Regions from separate parts of the Homo sapiens genome. Here region 1 is linked to region 2. The links are contacts of gene promoters, found by promoter capture Hi-C in blood cells and fetal thymus (Javierre and others, 2016). All regions are on one chromosome and are shown on one strand. The core of a region is centred on a gene start or on the middle of the fragment in contact, and the rest is flanking DNA. Distances in the headings are between cores, read along the strand shown. Region 1 holds the start of PANK4 (pantothenate kinase 4 (inactive)). Region 2 holds the start of CCNL2 (cyclin L2).

Region 1 (7,090 bases), core at 4,583-7,082, 1.1 Mb before region 2:
CGCACCCCTAGCCCCTGGCTAAGCACCTCCTTGATGTGGCCGCTGGACCAGCAGCGTATAGGTCATGGGCACACGGGTGACTACCTCGTCCTGCCCTCCCCACCCCCAGTCCAACCCCAGGGAGCCCATAGTCAGGCAAGGGACATGCCACAATGTGACTGCCGCCAGCATGAACCCCACTTCAGCTGCGAAATAGCTCCACTGAACACAACCAGATCCCCTGTGTAGCCGGGAGTCCAGAGCCCCTAGCCAGTGCCAGCCGCCATCAATGCCCAGAGCTGTGGGAGCCATGGCGTGAGCGCGTGGCCTGGACACCCCCACACGGGTTGCCCTCCTGCATCCATCAAGGGCCAGAGTGTTGTGGTGGGACCCCACCTGCTCAGAGATGAGCCCCCAGCAGTCCCAGCCCCCAGTGTCACTGCCTCCCTCTGACAGCCTGGAGCATGAGTCCCCTTCAAGGGAGGTGTTGTGGGAGTACAGCGGGGGTACGAGGGTGAATAGGGGCTCCCTTCCTGCCACCTCCAAAGTCACCTGATGTTTCTGCCTGGGAGCCTCCCAGCCTAACCCTTCACAATGGTGTCCGGCTGGCCTGTGGGAGAGCCACCCTGCATTGGCTTGAAGTCCTGTCTTCCCCTGCTGTCCCAGCACTGTCCTGGCTGCCCCCTGGACCGTCCATCCTTGTGCTGAGGACCTCCTGGAGCTAGGCCCACCAAGCGAGTCACTCAGAGCCGGGGGTCACTGCCGAGAGCCTCCGGGGAAGGCTCCTCATTGGACCCTGCCAGCTGGCCAGGGAACCCCACTCCTGGATTCAAACTCTGCCTAACCAGCCCTGATGCCAGCCCCAGCTCTGGGGGCTAAGGCCCTTCCGCTAGGACCCGGCAGGGTCCCAACCTGTCTCTAGGAGCCAGCCCAGGCCCCGAATCCTCTCCTAGTCTCTGCTGCAGAGCATTTGAGGAACTGTGACCGCAGGCTAGGGGGTGGGGGTCTCCCAAGGGACCCTCCCCTAAGGACCCAGGGTGGGATTCATTGCCTCAAAGTGGCTGCGGGCACTCAGCTCAGTTGGCCAGGTACCGGGGTTATTAGCTCATCCCATGGACCGGTGGTTGGGGGCGGGGGGCTAGGGCTGGCATGGCCTCTGATCCTCAAGTCTGCCACCTGGCACCCACTCCCTACCCACTGGCAAAATGCCAGAGGAAAGCAAGCCCTACAAGTGCCCTGGCTGCCAGAGAGACTAGGTGGAGCTGTGGCATGCATAAACAGTGGCCACAGCAAGCATGCCAAGAGCCGAGGCCTCCCGAGCTGCGTGGACACTGTAGTCAGATCCCTGGCCAGATAGGGGTGGGGAGAGGCCCCTGAGGGACACCTGCCAGCTCGTGGAGCAGCCCCAGTGCTGCTGTGGGTTACAGTGCTCCTGGGAGGACAGGGTGCAGGAAGCGGGGAGAGCTGCCGGGTGCCCGGCTCCGCGGGGAGAGCTGCCGGGTGCCGGGCTCCACGTGGAGCACGGGCCCCAGCTTCCTGGAGCTGCCCGGAGCCCAGCCAGGAAGGCACAAGGCCCATTTTCTAGGTCTGGAGAAGTCAGGAGTCCCAGGTGACAGTCAGGGGGCTTGTAATATAGGCACGTAGGACTGATCCTAAGAGCGTCGCCCCCTCTGTCCCCCTCCCCTGGAGGGGCAGCAGGTCCCAGTCAGGGAAGGTGCCCATCCCCCAGGAAGCCGTGGCACTTGTTCATTCTACAGTTTTTCCCTTATCTGCTCCTACGGCCTCTGCCAGCCAGCAGTGGGAAGCCGCTGGGGAGAGGCAGGGGAGGGGAGCGGAGGGGAGGGCGGGGGAGGGGGCCCTCCTTCCTGCCCCCCTCCCGTTTGGCGGCCTGGGAAAAGGCAGCATATTGAGGCGCGGGGCTCCCGGCATCAGGCCCCGGGATGCTAATGAGGGCGAGCGCGTTCCCACAGCCCGGACATTGTGCCGCGCGGCCCACCTGCTCCTTGGGGAGCGCCCATTGTGCCCGCGCCAATTCACAGGCAATTTAGCGTGCGCTAATGGGCCGGCGCCTTTGTGCGGCCCGCCCGGCCATTGGCCGCGGAGTGTGGGAACGGCCGCGGCGCCCGGACTCCAGGCGCCAGGCCGCCGCCCGCGCCTATATAGGGCGTCGGCGCGCGGGGCCGGTGTCCGCGCCAGCCCGGGACGCGCTTGGCCTTGCCCGCGCCCGCTCGCCTCGTCTCGCCCGGCCTCCCCGCGTCGCCTCGTCGCCTGTTCCGCGCCAGGCATGGCCCCCAGCACTGTGGCCGTGGAGCTGCTCAGCCCCAAAGAGAAAAACCGAGTAAGTACCAGACTCGCCCGGCGCGCTGTCCCCGCGGCCTCCGGTCCTCGGGGGTCCCTGCGCCGTGCCGGGCCAGCCTGACACCCCCTCCTCCCGCAGCTGCGGAAGCCGGTGGTGGAGAAGATGCGCCGCGACCGCATCAACAGCAGCATCGAGCAGCTGAAGCTGCTGCTGGAGCAGGAGTTCGCGCGGCACCAGCCCAACTCCAAGCTGGAGAAGGCCGACATCCTGGAGATGGCTGTCAGCTACCTGAAGCACAGCAAAGGTGAGCGCGCCCGGGCCCCCCGCGCCCCGAGTTCCCACCGCGCCCCGGCTCCCCCGCGCCCCGCCGCCCGCTCACCGCCGCCGCGTCTCCCCGCAGCCTTCGTCGCCGCCGCCGGCCCCAAGAGCCTGCACCAGGACTACAGCGAAGGCTACTCGTGGTGCCTGCAGGAGGCCGTGCAGTTCCTGACGCTCCACGCCGCCAGCGACACGCAGATGAAGCTGCTGTACCACTTCCAGCGGCCCCCGGCCGCGCCCGCCGCGCCCGCCAAGGAGCCCAAGGCGCCGGGCGCCGCGCCCCCGCCCGCGCTCTCCGCCAAGGCCACCGCCGCCGCCGCCGCCGCGCACCAGCCCGCCTGCGGCCTCTGGCGGCCCTGGTGACCCGGCGGGACCTGCGGGCGCGCGGCCCGACGACCAGAGGGCGAGCCTGCTCCTCTCGCCTGTAGGGAAGCGCCTTCCCGCCGTCGTCCGCCCCGGGCTTGGACGCGCCCTTCTCCGGAAGGCTCTGGCCCCAAGCTGGCCGGCCCGCAGGAGCCCCATTCTCAGAGAATGTGTGTGCAGAGTCCCTGCCGTTTTAGGACAATCAGGGCCCATCTTCTGCCAAGTGTCTGACCCCATGGGGTTGTTCTGTGTTTGCATTTAAGCAAGTGACTTCTGGGAAGTCCCCGGCCGCCCGGGGTTCTATGATATTTGTAGTGCCGGGGCTCGCACACTGCTGCCCCCAGCCTGTAGAGGACTTTCTTCAGGGCCCGTAGCTGCTGGGCGTACCCCTGGCAGGCGGGCTGTGCCGCGGGCACATTTGCCTTTTGTGAAGGCCGAACTCGAGCTGTATCCTCATAGGAAACAGTGATCACCCCGGACGGGCGTCCAGGACCCTGAGGGCCATGGCCAAAAGGCTCCTGAGTGTGCCTGGTGGTCTGGCTGGGGCTCACGGTGGGCTGTCTGGGGAGGGTGGGTGCCTCCACTATGATCCTTAAAGGATTCCTCTGTGTGGGTGGATGCGTGTGGGCACGACTTTGTACTCAGAAATTGAACTCTCAGTCACGTGGAAGCCACGGGACTGCTCCGAAGCCGCCATAATAAAATCTGATTGTTCAGCCCCCAACACAGTGTCGTCTGCTGTGCCTCACGCCTGTCCTTGGCAGCCATGGAGCGGGTCTGCAGGGGTGAAGGGGAATGGGCAGGGCCATGGTAGCAGTTAAGCAGGGAGGGACCCCTGCCAGTGGCCCCCTGGACCCCGGAAGAAGGGTGGGGTCCTTGCTCCGGAAGAACAGGGGGAGGGAGGGATGGAGGGAAAGCAGGTGAGGGGCAGGGGCAGGGGGAGGTGGGCTGGAGGGGTGGACATGGTCGGAGCCCTGGGTCTCCCCCCGCCCAGGCCTTTCACTAGCTTCCGGAAGGTAGGGGTGGGGCAAGGTGACAGCGCAGGACCTTAGGCTGTGTCCACTGAGAGGCGACCCAGGGCCACAGCCCGCAGTAGATCTGTTGCTACAGCCAAAGGGGCTTGGCCCTGGGCCAAACAGGAGAAAACATTTGCCCCGAGTTGCTGCTGCACACTCCCACGGCCTGCAGCGCCAGTCCTGGCATGGGCTCCGGGGACACCTGCCCGCTGGCCACCGTGCCAAGGCAGGATCTGGCAGTCCTGGCAGGAGCCTGCACGGGGCCATCCCTTGCCTCAGAAAGGGCATGTATTTTTAGGCAGGCCACAGGGTGTTGGCTGAGTCTGCAAGAACTGAGGCCTGTGGCTCCCAGGGACCAGCTCCCAAGGGGCAAAATCCATCCAGCAAGGATTGGGCCGGAGTGGGCCGCATTCCCACCCCCGCTGAATGGTAGCCCCGTGTGTGGGCCTGCCCTGCCTGCTCCTTCCTGCTCAGCCCCTCTCGCTCCGCTCAGCCTTCAGCCCCTTTCTGGCTACTCCACAGGCAGTCTAGACAGGGTCCCCCCACCAGACCAACCCAGTGCCTGCCAGTGGTCCCTACCGAGCCCCGGGGTATGGTGGGCAGAGGACAGGGAAGGCCCCCATTCACCTGCATGTTTCCCGCATGTTCAGTGGGCACACAGGTGGGCGCCCCTCATGGAGGGCACCTCCTGCCAGCCTGGCCCATGGCACACCATGCTGCCAGGGGTCTGAGCTGCCAGAGGTCTAAGCCGCCTGGGGTGTGCTCCACTCTTCCACCCAGGCCTCCCTGGGGCAGGCTCCCCCTCCAGAGCCACACACCCACCCCCTTGGAAGACACAGGCAAGGATGCCTCCTCCCTGAAGGCTTGCCCTGCGCACACAGATGCATTATCCCTGGAGTTTGTGCCGCCCCACAGGCCTGTGCTCCCAGGAGCCCTGCCAGGCAGCTGGTGGCATTCTCCACGTGCAGACAGAGGCTGAGGGCCAGAGACATGCAGTAATGACCCCGGGTTACCCGGGAGGGGCTGATCTGTCTGCTTCCAACACTGGGCTTTTTCCCAAGGCGCCCAGAGCCTCTGGAGAAGACGCATCTCTTCATGCCAGCAGGGCTTCCCAGCCACTCACCCTGGAACCCTGGCCTGCCCCACCTATACCCCTGTCCTGGCTCCAGCTGCTTCCAAGGCTTGTTCCTGCAGCCTCCCAGGCACCTGTCTTGCCCACAGGCAGCCTGCCTGGCTTCCCCCGACCACAGCACTTTCCACGGATCGCCATTACAGCACACATCTTCCCTACCCGCAGGTGCATGCCAGGCTGGGGCTCCTCCCAGGTGGGGCAGGGTTCCCCACTCCTCTGGTTTGCATGGGACTTTTAACATTGAAAGTCCCACGCCCCTGGGAAGCCAGGATTGAGTCACCCTAGCAAAGAGCGCATCACATTCGCCCTGGCGTGCAGGGCCAAGCTTACAGCAGGCACTCGCTGAAGGGCAGGGCTCTCTGACAGTCTGCAGACCCACGTGCCCCCTTAGAAGCAGGTGGGCGGCCTCTGCGGCCTCCCTCAGCAGGGCTCAGAGCACTTGAGTTAAGCCTGTGGACAGCGCGGTAAAAGAACATCAGTCCAGATGTTCTGTGCTGATGCGCGATCTCTGGAGGATAACCGCCCGCCCGCCCGCAGCCCCGGGCCTCTCGGACCCCTGCCCAGCACTGGCCCTAGCTCGCCCTGTAGCGGCCGAGACCTCAGAGGCCGGGGGTGGGGGAGGGAAGGGGCGGGGCCGGCGCCTCATTAACATAATCTATGCGAGGGGGCGTTTGGCAGTCAAATATATGCGCATATATCTCCATGGCTGATGAGCTGGCCGGGCACTTTCAAAATGGCGGAGTGTGGAGCGAGCGGCAGCGGGAGCAGCGGGGACAGTCTGGACAAGAGCATCACGCTGCCCCCCGACGAGATCTTCCGCAACCTGGAGAACGCCAAGCGCTTCGCCATCGACATAGGTAGCCGCAGGCCGGGCGCCGGGCGCGGGCTGCGGGGGCGGGCGGGGCGCCGGCGGTGGGCCGGCGAGCGGGGGCGGCGGGAAGGACGAAGGGCGGGGGCGCGGGCCTCGCGCACAGCCTCACGGGCCTTGTAGTCCGCGGGCCCGCGCACAGCCTCACGGGCCTTGTAGTCCGCAGGGTCGCTGATGCGCGGGCTCGGGGCGACGGCCGGACTACAGCTACCGGCAGGCGCCGCAGGGACCAGAGCGGGGCCTGCCGGGCCTGGTAGTTCGCGCGGCCGTCCTGGGTGGCTGGGGGCCGGGGTCCAGCGTTACCCGCCGCGAGGTGGGAGGGTCGGCGGAATTTTATGTCTTCGGCCACATCGGCATCTGGGCGCCCCGGCTCCGCCGCTTGGCTGGTGGCTGGCCTGAGATTTGGGGTCCTTAGTTCTGGTCGAGACGAGGACGAGCTCGGCGGGAAGCCCTTGGCAGAGTGGCCCCGAAAAGGCCGCGCGTTCCCGCGGCGTGGCCAGCTGTGGCCCGCGGGCCGGACAGTCCGTGCACAGGCCCCGCTCTCTGGAGAGTGGACGCCGGGCGTGAGTTCAGGCGGCCGTGGACGTGGGACCTGGGAACTCGTGCCTCTGGTTTAAAAGCCACCCGTGCCTTCCGTGGCCTTTAAGGCGGCCTGCACTTCTGCCCTGGCCTCTCCAGGGTCCGCTGCAGACCCTCCTGCCTGATGGCTGTGCTCTCAGTAATGACGGCGGGCCAGGCTCTGTTCTAGACCTTTTTCCCACGCTCCTGACTCCCGGACACCTCCCAGCCACCTCTAGGGGAGGAACGCGAATTACTCCCTTTTCGCAGATGAGGATACCAAGCCCCAGAAAGGTGAACTAATTTGCCCAGGGTCATCGGGCTAGAAAGTGGCAGAACCAGGATTTGAACCAGCCACTCCCTGCTCTCCTACTCTGCCCATGTTTCAGGCATGAGGGCTTCCTGGGGGCAGCTTCACCTGGAGAAACCCCCCTTGAATAGCCGCTGCGGCTTCACATACCTCTCCCTCTTAGCACTCATCTCGGTCGTAGGCTGAGTCTGCTTGTGTGTGAATCCCACAAGAGCAGCGGTGTGTCTTGTAGCCCCAGCCCCCGAAA
Region 2 (7,288 bases), core at 3,861-6,360:
CGGTGGCTCACACCTGTAATCCCAGCACTTTGGGAGGCTGAGGCAGGTGGATCACAAGGTCAGGAGATCGAGACCATCCTGGCTAACATGGTGAAACCCCGACTCTACTAAAAATACAAAAAAATTAGCCAGGCGTGGTGGCGGGCATCTGTAGTCCCAGCTACTCGGGAGGCTGAGGCAGGAGAATGGCGTGAACCCGGGAGACGGAGATTGCAGTGAGCTGAGATCGCGCCACTGCACTCCAGGCTGGTCGACAGAGCGAGACTCCATCTCAAAAAAAAAAAAAAGTTAAAACAATGAGGCTGGGTGCGGTGGCTTACACTTGTAATCCCAGTATGTTGAGAGGCAGAGGCAGAGGCGGGCTGATCACCTGACATCAGGAGTTCGACAGCAGCCTGGGCAATGTGGTAAAACTCTGTCTCTATTCAAAATACAAAATGAGCCAGGCGTGGTGCTGGCATGCGCCTGTATGCTACTCGGGAGGCTGAGGCAGGAGATTGGCTTGAATCCAGAAGGCAGAAGTTGCAGTGGGCTGAGATCACACCAGTGTACTCCAGCGTGGGCGACAGTGTGTGACTGTGTCTCAACAACAACAAAAAGTTTTAATAATGAGTGATTTCTGATGACATAGCAGGTGAAATAGGAACTTACAGAAAGGAAGGGGAATGTTTTGGAGCGAACGGATGGTTTATGCAAGTGTAGCAAAATCTTGGTGATTACTGAATCTGGTCATTATGCTAGTCCCTCTGCTTGTGTACATTAAGTTTTTCCTAAAAGGTTGAGGGGGTGGGTATTTTGCAGAAGGCACTCTTTGGTGCTTTACAAAGATCTTCAGGGTAGGCTTAGGAGGTTTGACTTTCCCATTTTACTCAGGGAACTGTAGTTAAGAAAGGAGACATACTTGGCCGGGCACGGTGGCTCACGCCTGTAATCCCAGCACTTTGTGAGGCTGAGGCGGGTGGATCACGAGGTCAGGAGATCGAGACCATCCTGGCTAACATGGTGAAACACCATCTCTACTAAAAATACAAAAAGTAGCCAGGTGCGGTGGCGGGCACCTGTAGTCCCAGCTACTTGTGAGGCTGAGGCAGGAGAATGGCATGAACCTGGGAGGTGGAGCTTGCAATGAGCTGAGATCGCACCACTGCACTCCAGCTTGGGCGACACAGTGAGACTCTGTTTCAAAAAAAAGAAAGAAAGAAAGGAGACAGACTTTGCACAAAGCATACAGGTCACAGGTAGTACAGTTAGGTCACAGGTAGTAGGCCACTTTGTCCTCGGTAGCCGAATTTTGTGTTTTTGTTCCTTTTTTTTTTTGGATACAATCTCACTCTGTTGCTCAGGCTGGAGTGAAGTGGCGCGATCTTGGCTCACTGAAAGCTCCAATTCCCGGGTTCACACCATTCTCCTGCCTCAGCCTCCTGAGTAGCTGAGACTACAGGTGACTACCACCATGCCCAGCTCATTTTTTTGTATTTTTGGTAGAGACAGGGTTTCACCGTGTTAGCCAGGATGGTCTTGATCTCCTGACCTGGTGATCCGCCTGCCTCAGCCTCCCAAAGTGCTCAGATTACAGGCATGAGCCACCGCGCCTGGCCTTGTGGTTTTTTTTCTTGTATTTTTTAGTACAGACAGGGTTTCTCCATGTTGGTCAGACTAGTCTCGAACTTCCGACCTCAGGTGACCTGCCTGCCTTGGCCTCCCAAAGTGCTGGGATTACAGGCGAGACACCGTGCCCTGCCTTGGTAGCTGAATTTAATGCTCAAAGAGACGGCCCCCCTTTTCTACTCCTTAAACTCTGGCATTGTTCACTAGCTTCTGAAATCCTCTGTGGTTCTTGCAGGCACTTCCAGGTTGGCTTAAAGGGTTACCCTAGGCCAGCAGTCAGCTCAGTCAGGGTGGTGACCAAGGACCCTGAACAAGGTGTTTGGTTCCCCGGGCCGACATCAGGACTGGAGTCCAGCCTCCCTGCAGATTCCACAGGTGCTTCCCTCACCCGTGTCCACATTTATCCTTCAGCATCCTGCCTGGAAGTCCTCTGCTGTGCCACCCAGATAGGATTCTCCTAGGCCTTCCCTCCCCCCAGGCGAGTGTGCAGCTGGGTTCTTCCTGAGCCAGCGCCGCAACCACGCGGAGCCGGAGTGTGTGTCTCACACTGACAGCAGGTTCTGATTCATTCTTTTTTCAGTGCCAGGTGGAGCTCAACAGGAAAGTCCTAGCGGATCTGGCCATCTACGAGCCAAAGACTTTCAAATCTTTGGCTGCCTTGGCCAGTAGGAGGCGACACGAAGGATTTGCTGCTGCCTTGGGGGATGGGAAGGAACCTGAAGGCATTTTTTCCAGAGTGGTGCAGTACCACTGAGGACTGTTGCTGTATTGATTAGGAAAAGAGACAGAGTAATTTGCAGTTTGTTTGATTTATACTTTTGTTTATCTACAACCCAATAACAGACATGAGGGATGGCCCTGTCTCTCTGGGACAGAGCCTCACAGATGATGTCCATGTTTTGTGTGAATGAAACTCAAACACTCTTCAGTTTTTAGAGTCATTTTCTGGTATCGAGCGACCACACCGAGGAGCACACCCTGCTTCCAAGGCTGCTGCCTTCTGCACACAGTGGGGGATCCCCACCCACCCTGGCTCCCCTCAAGGGCTGCGTGCACAGTGCCCGCTTTCCAGTTACCTGACCCACCCTGAGTCCCTATTCCATTTTGCTCGGGGCTGACCTCAGACATGCCCTGTGGCTCAGCTCTGCCACTACTCAGAACACCAGCCTCAGCTTCCCTATGTCCCCCAGATTCAGCAGCCCAGCAGGGATTGGGGGAAATGCTCCCACATCAGGTGGGTGGTGGCCTGGTCCCTGCAGACTGGACTGGCTTTTCAGCCATCTCCAGGAAGCAACACCTAGCAGACAACTGTCCCTTAACCCCAAGGGTGATGCACACTTCTCCCCTGGTCTTTCTGCCCCCCGATGCCCCTACATTTACACAGCAGTGCGCAGACCCTTGCCGCAACCTGCTTGTCTTGCTGACCCTGCTGTAGGAGCGCCTAAACTGAGTGCCCGTCTCCCCTCCAAAGGCAGCTGGCTTGAATCCTGTGGGAACGTGCCCTTCACCCTTTGCCAGCAGTTGCTGGGGAGTCTTTCCGGCCCCTTTCTCAGACTCACCACCTACCTCCAACCTGCGCAGAACAATCAGCGTCCTGACCACTTGCTAGAGATGGCTTCAGGCCGACCACTCCATCCTCACTGCAGGCCTTCATTCCTTCTGGCTTCCATCACTGCATGGCCCCCTAAGAGGTCCCCCTCCTGGCCCTTGTCACTGTGCCTCATGACAGCCACTACGCCCTAAGCCTTTGGAGGCCAGGGACAAAGTCTCGTTCACTGTCCTTTCCGCTGCATGAGTGCAGTGTCTGGCCAGGTGCACGGGGCACTCAGTGCCTGTCAGCCCTTGGTAAACAGTCCTGGACAACAGGGTCAAGGACAGAGCCCTGGGCGGCCACATTCGGTGCGTGCTCCTGTGTTGTGGCAAAGCTGCCTTTTCTGCGTTTCATGTCAGTGAAGGAAGACAGGGATGTGGCAGAGCCCTGCGGGTTGCTCCCATCACTCACTCGGTTTGTGCCATAGTCCTCCTGTTCCCAGGCGGTCCCAGGGCCTGCCCCTGATGGGCTGGAGGCACCACCAACCTCCCACTCCTCTGGCAGTCACAGCTCAGGGAATGGGCAAGCAGCACCAATGAGAAACCAGCTGTGTGGTGGGGTTTCCAGAGAAGAGGAAATTCCTTCTTTCCTGGAGAGCGTGCAGCTGTAACTCACAGACGAGACATCCCTGAGCTACCAGCCTGGGGAAAGAGGACATGAGTAAAGCTGTAACCATACCGTGTTACCCATAACAGGCGGTGAGGAGAGTGGGTTTTGGTTGGCACTGTTTGAGCTGCAGTATCAAGTCATGGCAGAGCTAGTGGACAGCTGACCTGGGGGTGGGGGTGAGGAGCAATGGTGGCTTCTGAATTTGAGCCCGTCTGAGCTGGGCAGTTACTGGCAGCTCAGTGTGTGAACCTGCAACCACTCAGGCCTCTGCTGCCCTTCCCTCTTCCTGCCTCACCGTTCCCTGCCCCACGCAGGCTTCCCCACCATCCTCACCCGTGGTCCTGTACTAGTCCTGGCAAAGGTTCCGGTAACTGCAGCAACAGATACCTCCTGCCCCTCCTGCACAGCTGTGGTCGATCGCAGGACAGCCGCAGGTGATGAAAAACCGTGAACCCAGGACGGGCAGGGCGTGAGACCGCCTGCGGGAGGATCAGCGATGTCAAGACGTTACAAACGCACGAACCCCCTCGCCGTCTCCCTGGCGTTTGTGAGGTCCTGTCCAAGCTCCTTCACACGTAGATCACCGGGCCTCGCTCCCCCGACTCCTTCCGTGGGCCTGAACCTTGAGGTACTTAGGCCTCCCCACGCTGGAGGGGCTCTGTAGGGACGTCGAGGCCACGTTTCCAGTCATCCCTCCACCCGTCTCTCCCCAGGGGCTGAGTGTTGAAGGCAAGACTTTGCAGGAGTCTGGCGTTAATACGCATCCCCAAAGTCTGGAGTCGATAAGGACTGAAGACACGACGCCGACGGCGGCCGGGGGACACCGGGCATGCGCGTCTCATCCAGGGGGAGGCCGAGCGGAGCCTCTGACCCTGCCCCGCGCCCAGGGTTCAGCAGTGGGGGTCGTCCCGCCCCAGATCCCACCGAGATGGCCCCCCTTGACCCACAGGCCTTTCGAGACGCGAGCTTCCGCGATCCGGGGTCTCTGTGCGAACGTGGGCATCTTGGAAGAGTCCCAGCCCCGCTCGGGGCGCACAGGCAGGCGCTCTCAGCACGGCACCCGCGCCTCCGCTAGGGACAGACATGCTTCCGGGTCGGCCGGCACCGCGGAGTCCCCTGGGTAACGAGCCCGCCCCACCCGCGCCAGGTTCCGGCGTCGGCGTTAGGCGCGTTGCTGACGGGCAGGTTATGTAGCCAATTGCGGCTAGGCGGCGTCGCGCTGGTCGCGGGCCGAACCAATGGCACGCGACGGGGCGGGGCGGTGGCGGCCGTGGAGCTTCGCGAGGAGCCGCCCTGAGGGAAGAAGCCGAAGGGGAGTCGGCGGCACAAAATGGCGGCGGCGGCGGCGGCGGCTGGTGCTGCAGGGTCGGCAGCTCCCGCGGCAGCGGCCGGCGCCCCGGGATCTGGGGGCGCACCCTCAGGGTCGCAGGGGGTGCTGATCGGGGACAGGCTGTACTCCGGGGTGCTCATCACCTTGGAGAACTGCCTCCTGCCTGACGACAAGCTCCGTTTCACGCCGTCCATGTCGAGCGGCCTCGACACCGACACAGAGACCGACCTCCGCGTGGTGGGCTGCGAGCTCATCCAGGCGGCCGGTATCCTGCTCCGCCTGCCGCAGGTGAGGGCGCGGCCGCGAGCCTCCGGCCCAGGTAACCGCTGGGGCGGCAGCCGCCTTTGTTGGCGGCGAGTCGGGCCCGCACCGCCCCCGCCTAGACCCCGACCCCAGCCCCTGCCCCGACCCCAGCCTCGGCGCCATTCCCTAGCCAGCCCATGCCCCTGACCCGGGGCCTCCCCGCCCGCCAGTGCGCTGGATCCCGAGACGGCGGGACGCGAAGAGCCTTTGTGGACGTGGGAAGCGTTTCAGTGTTTGGTTCTGCGTGGGGAGTCCCACGTTACTCGATGACTTTCGGCCGCGAAGGCTTTGAATGGTGCGTTTGAAAATACGGAAACTTTCTTCTACTCTAGGTGGCCATGGCTACCGGGCAGGTGTTGTTCCAGCGGTTCTTTTATACCAAGTCCTTCGTGAAGCACTCCATGGAGGTAAGGCTTCCTCCTGCACTTCATTCCCAGCGAAGTATGTTGAGGGTAAAACGGTTTGTTACTTTGCCCGGTTACTAAGGGAGTGAGTACTTGCCCCCCAGTCTGAGCTCTGTGCCGGAGGGTTCTGTTTCTTGACTTTTTTTTTCCCCTGGGTGCACCTCCCTTTTGGTCTGAATAGCCCTCAAGCCTTTGGCGGCCGTCAGGACGCCGTGGCTGGGGACAAACATGGGCGTGTTGCAATGCTTCCGCTTCAGCATGTGTCAATGGCCTGTGTCCACCTGGCTTCCAAGATAGAAGAGGCCCCAAGACGCATACGGGACGTCATCAATGTGTTTCACCGCCTTCGACAGCTGAGAGACAAAAAGTGAGTCAGTCAGAGCTGTCTAGTCTATCATAGATGCCTATTTTCTTTATTTCTGATTAAGTTACAGTAAGGCTTGTATAACACAATACAGGCCTGAGGCTCTAAACCTGTGGGATATTCATGAGCGCAGTCTCAAGCTCCACCAACAGAGCCTGCTCAGAGGCATCAGTAGATGCGGTTTAGTAAGGGCAGGGGCTCCAGTGAGGACAGTGCGCTGTGGCGGGTCGCGCTGGGGCTGGCTTCCTGCTTTACCCATGTCAGTGCACGGCCCTGCTGCTGCTTCTGTCCCACAAGTTTCTGAGTGCTCTGGAGCAGGGAATCTTAATCTCAGCACTATTGACATTCAGGCTGGATAATCTTTTTTTTCCTCCTGAGACAGGTTTCCTGTTGTCCAGGGCAGAGTGCGGTGGTATGATCATGGCTCACTACAGCCTCAACCTCCTAGGCTCAAGAGTTTCTCCTGCCTCAGCCTCCTGAGTAGCTGGGACTATAGGAGCACGCCAACCATGCCAGCTAATTTTTATTTTTTATTTGGTAAAGATGGGGTCATGCTGTGTTGCCCAGGCTGGTCTCAAATTCCTGGGCTCCAAGGATTTGCTGGCCTTAGCCTCCCAAAGCACTGGGATTACAGATTTCAGCCACCGCATCTGGCTGGGTAATCTTTAGTTGTAGGGGATTCTCCTGTGTGCTGCAGGATTCAGCAACATCCCTGGTCTCGACTCACTGGATGACAGGAGTACCCCACCTTAGATGTGACAGCCAGAAATTCTCTCATACCAGATGTGGGAGCTCACACCTGTCATCTCAGCACTTGGGAGACTGAAAAAGGAGGTTTGCTTGAGGCCAGGAGATTGAGGCTGCAGTGAGCTGTGATGTCACCACTGCACTCCAGCCTGGACAACAGGGTGAGGCCCTGTTTCCAAAAAAAACGAAAGTCTGTTGATGTTGCTTCATGGCCCTGGAATAGTAAAATTTCTCCAGCAGAGAACCGCTGCCTCTGACCTTAGCCCAGGGTTTATGCACCTGAAGTTAATTGAAGTCCTTTAGAAAACACAGCCTCTGGCCGGGCTGGCCTG

Evidence for each region. The method cuts DNA at HindIII sites, captures the fragments that hold promoters and counts their contacts. A CHiCAGO score of 5 or more calls a contact.
Region 1: the fragment with the promoter of PANK4 here is called in contact with the fragment with the promoter of CCNL2 in region 2 in 1 of 17 cell types (neutrophils); the score reaches 8.7 in neutrophils.

The regions. Positions count from the first base shown.
Region 1 is chr1:2,525,338-2,532,427 of GRCh38, reverse strand. It overlaps PANK4 (pantothenate kinase 4 (inactive)), which reads left to right and starts at 5,832. Exons shown (of 19, transcript NM_018216.4): 1 at 5,832-5,964. The coding sequence starts at 5,841. HES5 (hes family bHLH transcription factor 5) reads left to right here and starts at 2,165. Exons shown (of 3, transcript NM_001010926.4): 1 at 2,165-2,317; 2 at 2,417-2,582; 3 at 2,679-3,683. The coding sequence starts at 2,264. The coding sequence ends at 2,959. RefSeq lists enhancers at 1-198, 1,905-2,408, 2,923-3,642, 3,643-4,363, 5,085-5,805. The HindIII fragment of the contact is 7,457 bases long and covers 5,435-7,090 here.
Region 2 is chr1:1,397,157-1,404,444 of GRCh38, reverse strand. CCNL2 (cyclin L2) reads left to right here and starts at 5,110. Exons shown (of 11, transcript NM_030937.6): 1 at 5,110-5,426; 2 at 5,774-5,848; 3 at 6,103-6,212. The coding sequence starts at 5,139. It overlaps MRPL20-AS1 (MRPL20 antisense RNA 1), which reads right to left and starts at 4,915. Exons shown (of 3, transcript NR_015434.1): 1 at 4,756-4,915; 2 at 4,142-4,287; 3 at 2,399-3,840. It overlaps MRPL20 (mitochondrial ribosomal protein L20), which reads left to right. Exons shown (of 4, transcript NM_017971.4): 4 at 2,189-2,536. The coding sequence ends at 2,362. RefSeq lists an enhancer at 3,629-4,172 and silencers at 4,558-4,617, 4,908-5,147, 5,218-5,397. The HindIII fragment of the contact is 37,128 bases long and covers 1-7,288 here.